3 separate regions of the Homo sapiens genome follow, and all the other regions are linked to region 3. Evidence: promoter capture Hi-C in human tissues and cell types (Jung and others, 2019). All regions are on one chromosome and are shown on one strand. The core of a region is centred on a gene start or on the middle of the fragment in contact, and the rest is flanking DNA. Distances in the headings are between cores, read along the strand shown. Region 1 overlaps CYFIP2 (cytoplasmic FMR1 interacting protein 2). Region 2 overlaps CYFIP2 (cytoplasmic FMR1 interacting protein 2). Region 3 holds the start of NIPAL4 (NIPA like domain containing 4).

Region 1 (3,329 bases), core at 766-3,265, 190 kb before region 3:
GGAAAAACTTGCTTTAGGCATTAGGCCAAGAGTCGGATGTACAACCCAGTGGGGTTGGAGAGTTTTACTCAAATCAGATGCTGGCCCAGAGAAGGAAGTAGACATGAATTCAAAAACCGGTAAAAGGCCCTGGTAGAACACTACATGACCCCTCTGATAAATCATGCCCTCTCTGATGTTCAGTGGCCTCTGCTGCTGTCATCAACCAGAAAGCTGAATGAGATGATGAATCGGCTACAAGCTAATTAACGGGAAAAGCGCTCCTGGAAAACAGTACGGGTCCCAGTCCCTACGTTTAAAGATTGGACTACACTCTCAACGCAGCTTCTTTGGACCACTGTTGGCCCCAGGGGTCCACCAAAAGCGTCACAAAATGGCCTTTTGTAGCCTCCATGTGGCCACCGTAACAATGAGTCTATTTCTTTACTGGCAAGTATTAATTATTCACTTGTAATTGACAAAGCCAGACATCAGTCACCTCACTGGAGTCTTTATGAAAGGCTTTTGGTCCTGTCATTCTGAGGAGCAAAGCCATGCCTAGGGTCCAGGGGATGGCCCCTGCATCAGTAGTGAGATGGTGGGAGAAGGGGGGCAGGCTGCTGCCTTCTTGGCAGTGAATGGAGGCAGGGGAGGAACTAGAATATCTTTGGATGCTCTTACTACCCAAGGGGTGCATGAAAGTGCCGAGCAGAATGCTTAGCACATAGTAAGTACTAGCATATTTATGTATTTATTGTTATAATGTATTAATTACATAATCATTAAGAATTTGGCTTATGTATGTAATCAACCCTTGGCTATTACCAGCCCCTCTCCCTCCAGAGCTTTCCTGAATTTTGCTTTTTTGAGGGAAGTTGGTCTCTGTGACCAGTAAACCCAGCCCCAAGTTTACCGGCCGAAGGAAGGGAAAGTTAAGAGTGATAGGGCATGAAGTGAAAGGCTTCAGGTGGGAAGTGCTCTTAAGTAGCACAAGAGAGGTGGGTGGAACCTGAGTAGGTAGGGAGAAGTGGGAGGGAACAAGCCAAGCAGAAGCCCAGGGCCATTCTCACATTTCAACACGTAGAGTTAAGGAAGGGCCTCTTCCTCTGTGAGAATTCAGCATTTTGCAACCATCCAAAAATGTTGAGGGCATGCTTTGCTTCCAGGGCAGACAGAGCAGCACAGTGAGCATGGGACACAGGATCCCTGACTTGCTGTGTGCCCTTAAACCAGCCACTACCTCTCTGACGTTCAAAATTGAGCAATGGAAGGCAGCCTGCCCAACTGTTACCTGCCTGTCATCATGAAAGCCTGCGGATGAGGTAATGTCTGTAAATCCCAGTCTGAGAAAAAAAAGCCGTGGAAATAGAGAAGGAGCCTCCTGAATGTGTGACTCTTTTGGGTAAATGCCCTCCATTCCTTAAGAAACAATTTATTAATTATATATTGTGTGTCACTTTAAGAAGATGGATCTGTGGCCTCTCTGTACTGTTGAGCCAATGGGAAGCTTAAAGGCACTTTGTGATTCACAGATTCTGTCAAGGCCCCTGGATGGCCTTGTCTGTACAAAGACACTTCAGAATTCAGTCAGTGGGTATGGGACGCCTCCCAGGATGCAAAGAGCTTAGATATTGGCTTTCTAGCCATGGGCATTATGCTAAGGGCTGTGTGTGATGTACCTCAAAAAATAGCCATTTAAGCCATACTTGGGCCCTGGCAACAGAGGGTGCAAATTCTTGAAAGAAATTGTTTTGAGAAGGCAGAGCTTGAGTTCAGGCAGAATTTCTTGCAGGGATCATTCTGGTTGCGTGGCATTTTGATAGACTTTGGGCAACTCAGATACAGGCAGTGAGAGAGGGAAGTAAATAGGACCTTCTTGCGAGATGCCTGAGAAAGACCCAGTGATGACTTCATCAGTAGACCTTTTGATTCTGTTTGCGTCATTATTTGGTCATTGTAGAGCAATGGTTCTTAGGCTTTAATCTCTAGGTAAAACAGAGGTGTGTTTAGTCTGTCCATGTTCTCTGTTTTCTAAGTAAGGCAGGAGGTGAGGTCCTCTGCAGGAAATAAAGGTGATGGACTGGTTAGGAAACTTCAGGAGACTTCAGGGTTTGGAACAGTTGCCTATGTGGGTGGAATAAGAAATAAACTGGGGAAGAATGAGAGAATTGTCTAACTTCACTGAAGGCCTGGCTGAGATCAAAGAGAATTTGCAGGGCTGACCCTCAGAGAAGACATGCAGTAACTCTTAAGGAATATCCGAGAACTATTTTTGATTTGTGCTTTTAAAATATGATGCTTTAAGATTTGTTTTGGCAAGATATGAATGGCAAGATAAGAATTCAGAACTAGAGGTCAGCCCCCTATCTCCAAGTCTGTTATACTTCCATATGGGAAAGAGAAATGAGGACCTGCTTCTTAGGGTTTGAAGTGGAAACTATACGACAGAAGGATTTTCTAAAGAACTCTCCTCAGATTCTTATATTGACAAGGCAGCCTTGGATATGGGACCTTAGAGAAGCATGATATTTTAACTTTCTTGTTAATTTTTTTAAACCAGAAGTTAAGAATTTTGGTCATTGGCTCATGCAGTCAACAAATCATTCATGAAGTATTAATTAAGCAAGTAATTCCTGGTGTGTGCCTATCTCTGTGCTGGTTGCTATGGGTCAAACTCAGATAAGATGACTATCCTTGGCATTCTTAGCAATCCAAAGAATTAGTGAAATATAAAGCAGTTTGTCGTGCAGTTAAAAACTGTGGACTCTAGACTGTGAGTGCTAAGGGAGTGAGAGAAATAAAGGTCATTAAGGGGCTTGGCTGGTCAGACCTTTGTGGAAAAGGCATGTCTTCGTGTGGGCCATGATAGATCGGTAAGATTTGAGAAGGGAAGAAGACAGTCCATAAGGGAGTGGAGACAGTTTGAGCAAAGGCACAAAGGAAGAGTATCCTTGGACAGGTTTATTATGCCCTGTATACCTTGGCCACAGAGAATGGTCTGCATGATCCTTAACACATGTCTTTAAGGAAGCCCTTTGGATGGAATGTCTCAACTGTAGTCATGGTCATTTGCTTTAGTGTTGGGAGGGTCCTGAGAGAGGCCCAAATCCAGTGATTCTTAACTGGTTGCTGTTGTGGTTTTTTTAGTACACAAAATGGACAATGTTGACATGCTGAACACATCAGCCCCCACAGCCAACCCCCCAACTCTGCTCCATTCCTGCCACTCAAGGGAAGAGATGAACATGCAAGCAATAATATCACACAGAGATCTTGAACCCTCGCCTCACATACAATAAAATGTACCTTGTTTGCAAACCTCAGTGCTTAAGCTATTATTAGCACAAGTT
Region 2 (3,112 bases), core at 7-2,506, 170 kb before region 3:
AGGGTGTATTCGTTGGCTTGGATACCTTAACAAAGTGCCACAGACTAAATGGCTTAAACAGCAAAAATGTATTTCCTCCCCGTTCCGGAGATTAGAAGTCCAAGATCAAGGTGTCTGTAGGTTCGGTTTTTCCTCAGACTTTTTTCCTTGGCTCCCAGATGGCTGTTTCTCTCTGCATCCTCACATGGTCTCTTCTCTGTGTGCACACATCTCTGGCACCTTCTTTCTGTGTGTCCAGATTTCCTCTTTTTATAAGGACACCAGTCAGATTAGATCAGGGCCCTCTCTAATGGCCTCATTTTAACTTAATTACCTCTTTAAAGGCCCCGTCTCCAAATACAGTCACATTCTGAGGTCCTGTGGGGTTAGGGCTTCAACCTATAAATTTGGGGGGCACACAATTCAGCCCATAACAGAAGGCTTTAGTTTATTTAATAAAAAATTAAAAACAATGGAAAAATCTTTATCCTTAAAAGAGATATGAACAGAACGCAGCTTGGGGGACAGATTCCATGTGTTAGTCATATGTAGAATGAGTTGCAAGTAGGAATGAGGCAAATAAATTAGTCAAGATAATTAAAGTTATCTACACTGCAGGCATTCAAGGCTGAATGAGGGTGATGGCACTGGGGTACAGCTAAGAGGATATGGATGTGAGGGACACTGGCTTAGCAGTCACCTGGGACTGCACTGACTGAGTTCCCAGGAAGACCAGGTCAAGACACCAACAGAGCAGTCGGAAGGAGGGGTTAGGTTGGAGAGTGATAGTGTTCATTTTCTGTTACTGCCCTAATAGAGTGTCACAAACTTAGTGGCTTAGAAGAACACTGATTTATTTGCTTATAGTTTTGTAGGTCAGAAGTCTGACGTGGGTCTTACTGAGTTAAAATCAGGGTGCCAGCAGGGCCGCATTCCTTCTGCAGGCTCCAGGAGAAAGTCTGTTCCCTTGCCTTTTCCAGCTTCTAGAGGTGTCTACATTCCTTGACTCGTGGCCCCCAGCCAGCAGTGACATCACTCTGATCTCTGCCTGCATCTTCAAATCTCCTTCTCTGACTCTTCTGCCTCCCTCTTTTGCTTATGAGTACCTTGTGTTTACACTGGGCTCCCCAGGATAATCCAGAACAACCACCACCACCCGCCTACCCCCATTGCAAGGCTCTTAATTGGTCACATCAGCAAATTGCCTCTTTCCATGTGAAGGAACATATTCACAGGCACCAGGGATTAGGATACAGACATCTTGGGGGGACCATTATTCTGCCTACACAGGGAGAGTGTTGATGTGGCTTAGGCATGAGTCATGAGTGGCATGCAATGCTGACATTCCTGGATAACACCAAAATCTCCCTTCAGTCAACAGTGTCTTCCTCGTGCCTTCCCCAGTCTTTCTAAGGTAGCTTATTAGCAGCAATGTGGGTGTATGAGATGCTCATCTTCTTGTATGTCTCCTGTCCCCACTTGGGCAAGGTGAATCTCTCAAAGGACAGGATAGCCAGAGAAAAGAGGAGGAGGGGAAGTACGTAAACCACATAACTGACCAACTATATGGAAGAGTTGAGGGTTCTTTGCTGGGGTGAGATGGGGGCTGAGTGATCACTGGATCTGTCACTACATAAAATTTGAGCTACACTCACATTGGGTTTAAGTCATGGACTTTCAGAATATTAGAAATGTAAAGGACCTTAGAGATCCTTAGTCCTGAAGCTGTCAATGTGGGCTGCACAAGAGAATCAACCTGGGGATTGTTTAAAAACACCAGTGCCCCACCCCATCCCCAGGGATAAATATTTAGTTAATCTGGGGCATGGCTTAGGCATCAAATTCCCCAGGTGACTCTAATATACAACAAGGGTTGAACACGAATGATTCAGGCCAACTCTTTACCTCCAAGTAAGGAAACTAAGACATTACAAGTTAAAAGGTGGGCCCAAGAAGAGTGAGGACCAGAACTCAAGTTTCCCAAGACCCCACCCAGGGCTCTTTCCACTGCACCATCCTAACCTCTACATTCTAGCATAATTGCATGACAGATCTGGCTGATGGCCAAACTGTCCGTAGGGCAGAGTTCACATTCTTCTTGTTCACTGCGCTGTTTGCAGCACAAAGCACAGAGCCTGGGACCCATGAGTGCCCAGTTAAACATTCACTGAATGCATGAGTCGGAATTAACACCCGTCGGCAGGCAGGTTGGTGCTACAAGTAGACACGTGTTCCTTACGTGACTGTCACTTCCCCTTTTGGACATGTGTTCTGAGGCAGATGACTGCGGGACCCACGGGCTTGATTGGTTCTCCCTGTTCTCAAGGACAACATGTTACTGATTTTTAAAGTTCTCTAAATTAATCATTGAAGTGTGACTTGTCAATGACATTTGCTGCTGAAAACAGAACTGTCATAAGTAAATTGATCTGCTGTTATACTAATAAGATATTATGAAATGGTGGTATGTGGATTTAAAAATAAAGTTCATTTTTTAATATAGATATAAACATTTATAAAAAGAGATGGCCTAGTAAAATTCTTTCTTTGGTGATTTTTTTTTCAAAGTGTATTTCCATTTGAAGTGTACAATTCAGTAGTTTTCAGCATATTCACAATGTTATACAGCCATGGCTACTACCTAACTTTCATCACCCCTAAAAGATGCCCTGGACCTGTTAGTAGTCAATCCCAATTCCTCTCACCCCACCACCTCCTGGAAGTCACTAGTATACTTTCTGTTTCTATGGATTTGCCTATTTTCATCTAAATAAATAATCCAATATGGACCTTTTGTGTCTGGCTTCTTTTACTTAACATAATGTTTTCTTTCTTTCTTTTTCTTTTTTCTTTTTTTATTTTTATTTTTTTATTTTTTTTGAGATGGAGTTTTGCTCTTATTGCCCAGGCTGGAGTGCAATGGCACAATCTTGGCTCACCGCAACTTCCACCTCCCGGGTTCAAGTGATTCTTCTGCCTCAGCCTCCTGAGTAGCTGGGATTATAGGCATGCACCACCATGCCCGGCTAACTTTGTATTTTTAGTAGAAACAGGGTTTCTCCATGTTCATCAGGCTGGCCTCGAACTCCCGACCTCAGGTGATCCACCTGCCTCGGCCTCCCAAAGTGCTGGG
Region 3 (3,586 bases), core at 690-3,189:
AGTTGTGGGGGCCTTGTGCTGTATCCTGCTTTGTTTTCAAAGCATTTTTCCAGAGAGGTGCACATCATTACAGAATCAAGGGCTTGTGAAATTATGCAGCAAGTAAAATGAGCAAACGTGGCTTGTTACATTTGCTGTGTCTCACATTTCCCTTTCTCTTTTAACCTCTCCCTTCCCCAACCCGATCCCGACCCCTTGGAGAAGGGGCTGTTGCATTTGACAAAGAAATTGATCCTTATGTAGAGTAAGCAACTTGTTTAAAGTCATCCAGCAAATTAGAGGAAGCCCCATGCTGGGAGAACCCATCCTTAGAGGCCCAGCTAGAGGTCCGCAAGTAGACAGTGGAGGGTCGTAGGTAGGAGGACAGGCTTGGGGTCAGAGCAGCTCGGTTTACACCTGGCACCCTCGTTCACTAGCTGTGCAACCTTGGGAGCAAGTGTCTCAGAGTATTTAAAGGACAGTTTTTTCTATTCCTATACAAGATGTTAACATTAAGGGAAGCTGGTGACAGGTATATGGGAACTCTCTATACTATTTTCGTAACTCTTCTATAAGTCTAAAATTATCTCATGATAAAATTTTTAAAAATAACAGTTTCCTCTTATCTGTAGCATGGAAAGAGTAAGGATATCTGTCTCCTAGGAGGCTTCGATGAGACAGTGCCTGGAAAGGGGTTAGCACAGTGTCTGGCCCATGCTGACGACTCCATACATAACAATTCTTAAAAGCTGCCTCCTCCAGGAAGCCGGTGAGCACCACTGGCAGAACCAATCACTGCTTTCTCAGTAGCCCCACACCCTCACTGCCCAGGAGCAGTTTATTTCAGTGTAAAATGCCAGGCGGCTTAATGTGACCACTGACAGCACGAGTTTGATCCTGGCTTTTCTGCTTCTCAGCTGAGATCCCCAGCAAGTTACTTGAGCACTTTGTGCCTCAGTTTCCTTTTGGTAAATAATAAAAGTCTGTACATTATAAGGCGGTCATGAAGATTAAATGAACTGGAATTTTTCAGCACTTAGAACTCTGCCTGGCCTATAGCAAACTCTACATACCTATTTTTATGCTCCAGGTCAGTGGTTTTCTAACTTGCTTTTTACTGTTACCCATAGTAACAAATATGCTTTCCATCACAACGTGTGTATGTGTGTGTGTGTATAAATAATTTTAAAGTGGTAATTTCAAAAACATTGGTCTCTAAGAGATGATCACATTTTGTTTCCCCCATTAAAATATAAGGTACTTGGGGGACAGGGAATAGTCTGACTCATTTTGGTCTCCAATCACTTCATTTCCTTCTTTCATTTAATTTACCAAGCTCCTATTATCTATTCATTAGACATAAATATATATTGAGCATTAACTCACTATGTACCTGTTACCTACCAGCACAGATCAGACCTGGGTTGAATCAATGAACGGGTAAGGCAAGGAAAGGAGGTCGCAGGGCAGAAGGCAGGGAGGAAGGGCAGGAGGGTGAAATGGAAGGAAGGGAGGAAAGGTGGAGGGGAGGAAGGAGAGGGGGAGGGTAGGAGGGCGAGAAGGAAGGAAAAGAAGGAACCCAGGTTCCCAATTGGCAGCAGTACCCACTTCCAACCCCTATGTTGCCACTTCCACCTCGGCAGGAAAGTTGCCCCTTCTCCAGCCATCTAGGTCCCCTGTACTCTTTCCCTGGGGATGGAGCTGGGTGCCGGTGCAGGCATCGGAGGAGCGGTGCCGGGGAACCCGCCTCCTCACCTCTTGCCCCTAGCACGGGGCGGTGACTCCAGAGCTGGGAGCCTGGCAGCGTCCTCACCCCAGGAAGGCATGCGCCCCTCTGCGGGCGGCCCCAGCCCTGGGCCCCCTGCCCCCGGAATTGCCCAAGATGCCGGGTGACTCCTCCCCGGGGACTCTCCCACTCTGGGACGCGTCACTCTCCCCACCCCTGGGTCCGGACCCCGGCGGCTTCTCGCGCGCGAGCCACGCGGGGGACAAGTCGCGGCCACCTGCTCCGGAGCTGGGGAGCCCGGGCGCCGTCCGCCCGCGCGTCGGTTCGTGTGCCCCGGGCCCCATGGAGCTGCGGGTCAGCAACACCAGCTGCGAGAACGGTGCGTACGGCAGGGCTGGGGACCAGGCGGGCTCCGCGCTTCGCGCCCTCCCCTCCTTGCCACCGCTCTCCCTCGCATCCTCTCCTCCCAGGGGGGCCAAAGCTGGGGAGGGGCAGGGCCAGCACGAGGTGGCTCCCACCCAGCTTTGAAGATCTGGGTTCTGGCTGAGACTTCACTTTCATCTTCGCAGCTGGGATGGCTGAGAGGAGTCAGGGAAGGAAAGTATGTCCCCTGGGTTGAGATGGGGGGTTAGTGGGGGGCAGGCATTTTGACGACAGCAGACACCCTGAGAGGTGGTGGGGGCGGGGGGAGGATTCTGTGTTTTTAATGTGTAGTTGCTTCAGGTTTTAGTACCTGCGCAGTTTGGGCTTTCTCTCTGGGTCAATGGGAGGACCATCACAGGACGGTCTTGTCTTTGGAAAAGAAAAAGAACCACAGGAAGGGGTAAAGAAAGACCCCTGACTTCCTATTGCGTTCTGACCATAAAGCAGGTAGTGGACTAGGCCCTTTACCCGCATTATCTCACTGAATCCTTAAAACAACTCTAGAAGGTAGGTAGGTATTATTATTTTACTATCTTGCTATCCCCACTCTAAAGATCCAGAAACTGAGGCTCTGAGCAGCTAATAATTTGCTCAAGGTAATACAGTGAGGAAATGGAATATAGATCCAAGGCTGGTGGACAGTAAAACCTCAACTCCTTCCTTGGTGTGGCTCCACTTTCCTACCTTGTCTTGGAACTGCAGGCTGTGGCATGTCCCTGTTTCTCTAACCTCTTCCCTTCTACAGTGAAGCTTTCAAAGCCAGCCTGTTAGGTGTCTGACTTTGGTTTCCTGAACAAGGCAGGCATTTTCAGCCTCACCTTTTCTCTAGGCCAGAATGTGTTCCCCAGTCCTAGCATATTCTGGAAGAGATAACAGGAATCATCTGGCCCATGCTCAGAATTGGATTACTTTGGCCATCAGCCCTCTGTCTTTTACTTTTCACTGCAGTGGGAGAACTTGACTCAATGGAGGATGCTCAGCCCTTGGGTGTTGCGGGCTTTACTGTGACAGCCAAGTCCATCCACAGAGGGTTCGTTGGCTCCATCTGCTAGAGGTGCACCTTCAGGGAGCAGGGGAAGGGCGTGGGGATGAGTTTGGTCTTCCTCTCAGGAGTCACCTCCCCTAGCCCATGTTCTCCCAGGTTCTGGCTCATTTCCTGGGCTCAGGGAACTCCCCAGATTCAGCTCTTGGGCAAGGAAGCCTGAGCTGGAGAAACAGGAATGAGCAGTGCAGAACAAGTCTGATTAGGGACTGAGATGCCTCTTGTCTCATCTTCCCTTGATTGTGACACGAGTTTTGGAAAGAGAGATATCACACTGCAAAAGACACATGGATGTGCCCCAGTGGGTGCTGGATCCAGATCTTTCACCAGATGTTGGGGTGACTTAAGCAAGCTCTTCCCTTTCTCAGGGCCTCAGTTTCCCCAGAAAAAATAAGAATTTAGACTGCTTTCTAAGG

The links. Contacts are between HindIII fragments. The study calls those that stand out against the background at their distance.
Region 1: a fragment that was not itself captured here is called in contact with the fragment with the promoter of NIPAL4 in region 3 in 1 of the 25 tissues and cell types used here (thymus).
Region 2: a contact is called between a fragment that was not itself captured here and the fragment with the promoter of NIPAL4 in region 3, in 2 of the 25 tissues and cell types used here (mesendoderm cells and thymus).

Annotation. Positions count from the first base shown.
Region 1 is chr5:157,268,283-157,271,611 of GRCh38, forward strand. The region is part of intron 1 of CYFIP2 (cytoplasmic FMR1 interacting protein 2); the gene reads left to right. Among named protein-coding and RNA genes, the nearest start is that of CYFIP2, 3.8 kb to the left of the region's middle. The HindIII fragment of the contact is 6,073 bases long and covers 1-3,329 here.
Region 2 is chr5:157,289,378-157,292,489 of GRCh38, forward strand. The region is part of intron 3 of CYFIP2 (cytoplasmic FMR1 interacting protein 2); the gene reads left to right. Among named protein-coding and RNA genes, the nearest start is that of CYFIP2, 25 kb to the left of the region's middle. RefSeq lists a silencer at 2,286-2,335. The HindIII fragment of the contact is 6,760 bases long and covers 1-3,112 here.
Region 3 is chr5:157,458,274-157,461,859 of GRCh38, forward strand. NIPAL4 (NIPA like domain containing 4) reads left to right here and starts at 1,940. Exons shown (of 6, transcript NM_001099287.2): 1 at 1,940-2,084. The coding sequence starts at 2,048. It overlaps NIPAL4-DT (NIPAL4 divergent transcript), which reads right to left and starts at 1,827. Exons shown (of 3, transcript NR_136205.1): 1 at 1,735-1,827. RefSeq lists a silencer at 1,834-1,993. The HindIII fragment of the contact is 8,008 bases long and covers 1-3,586 here.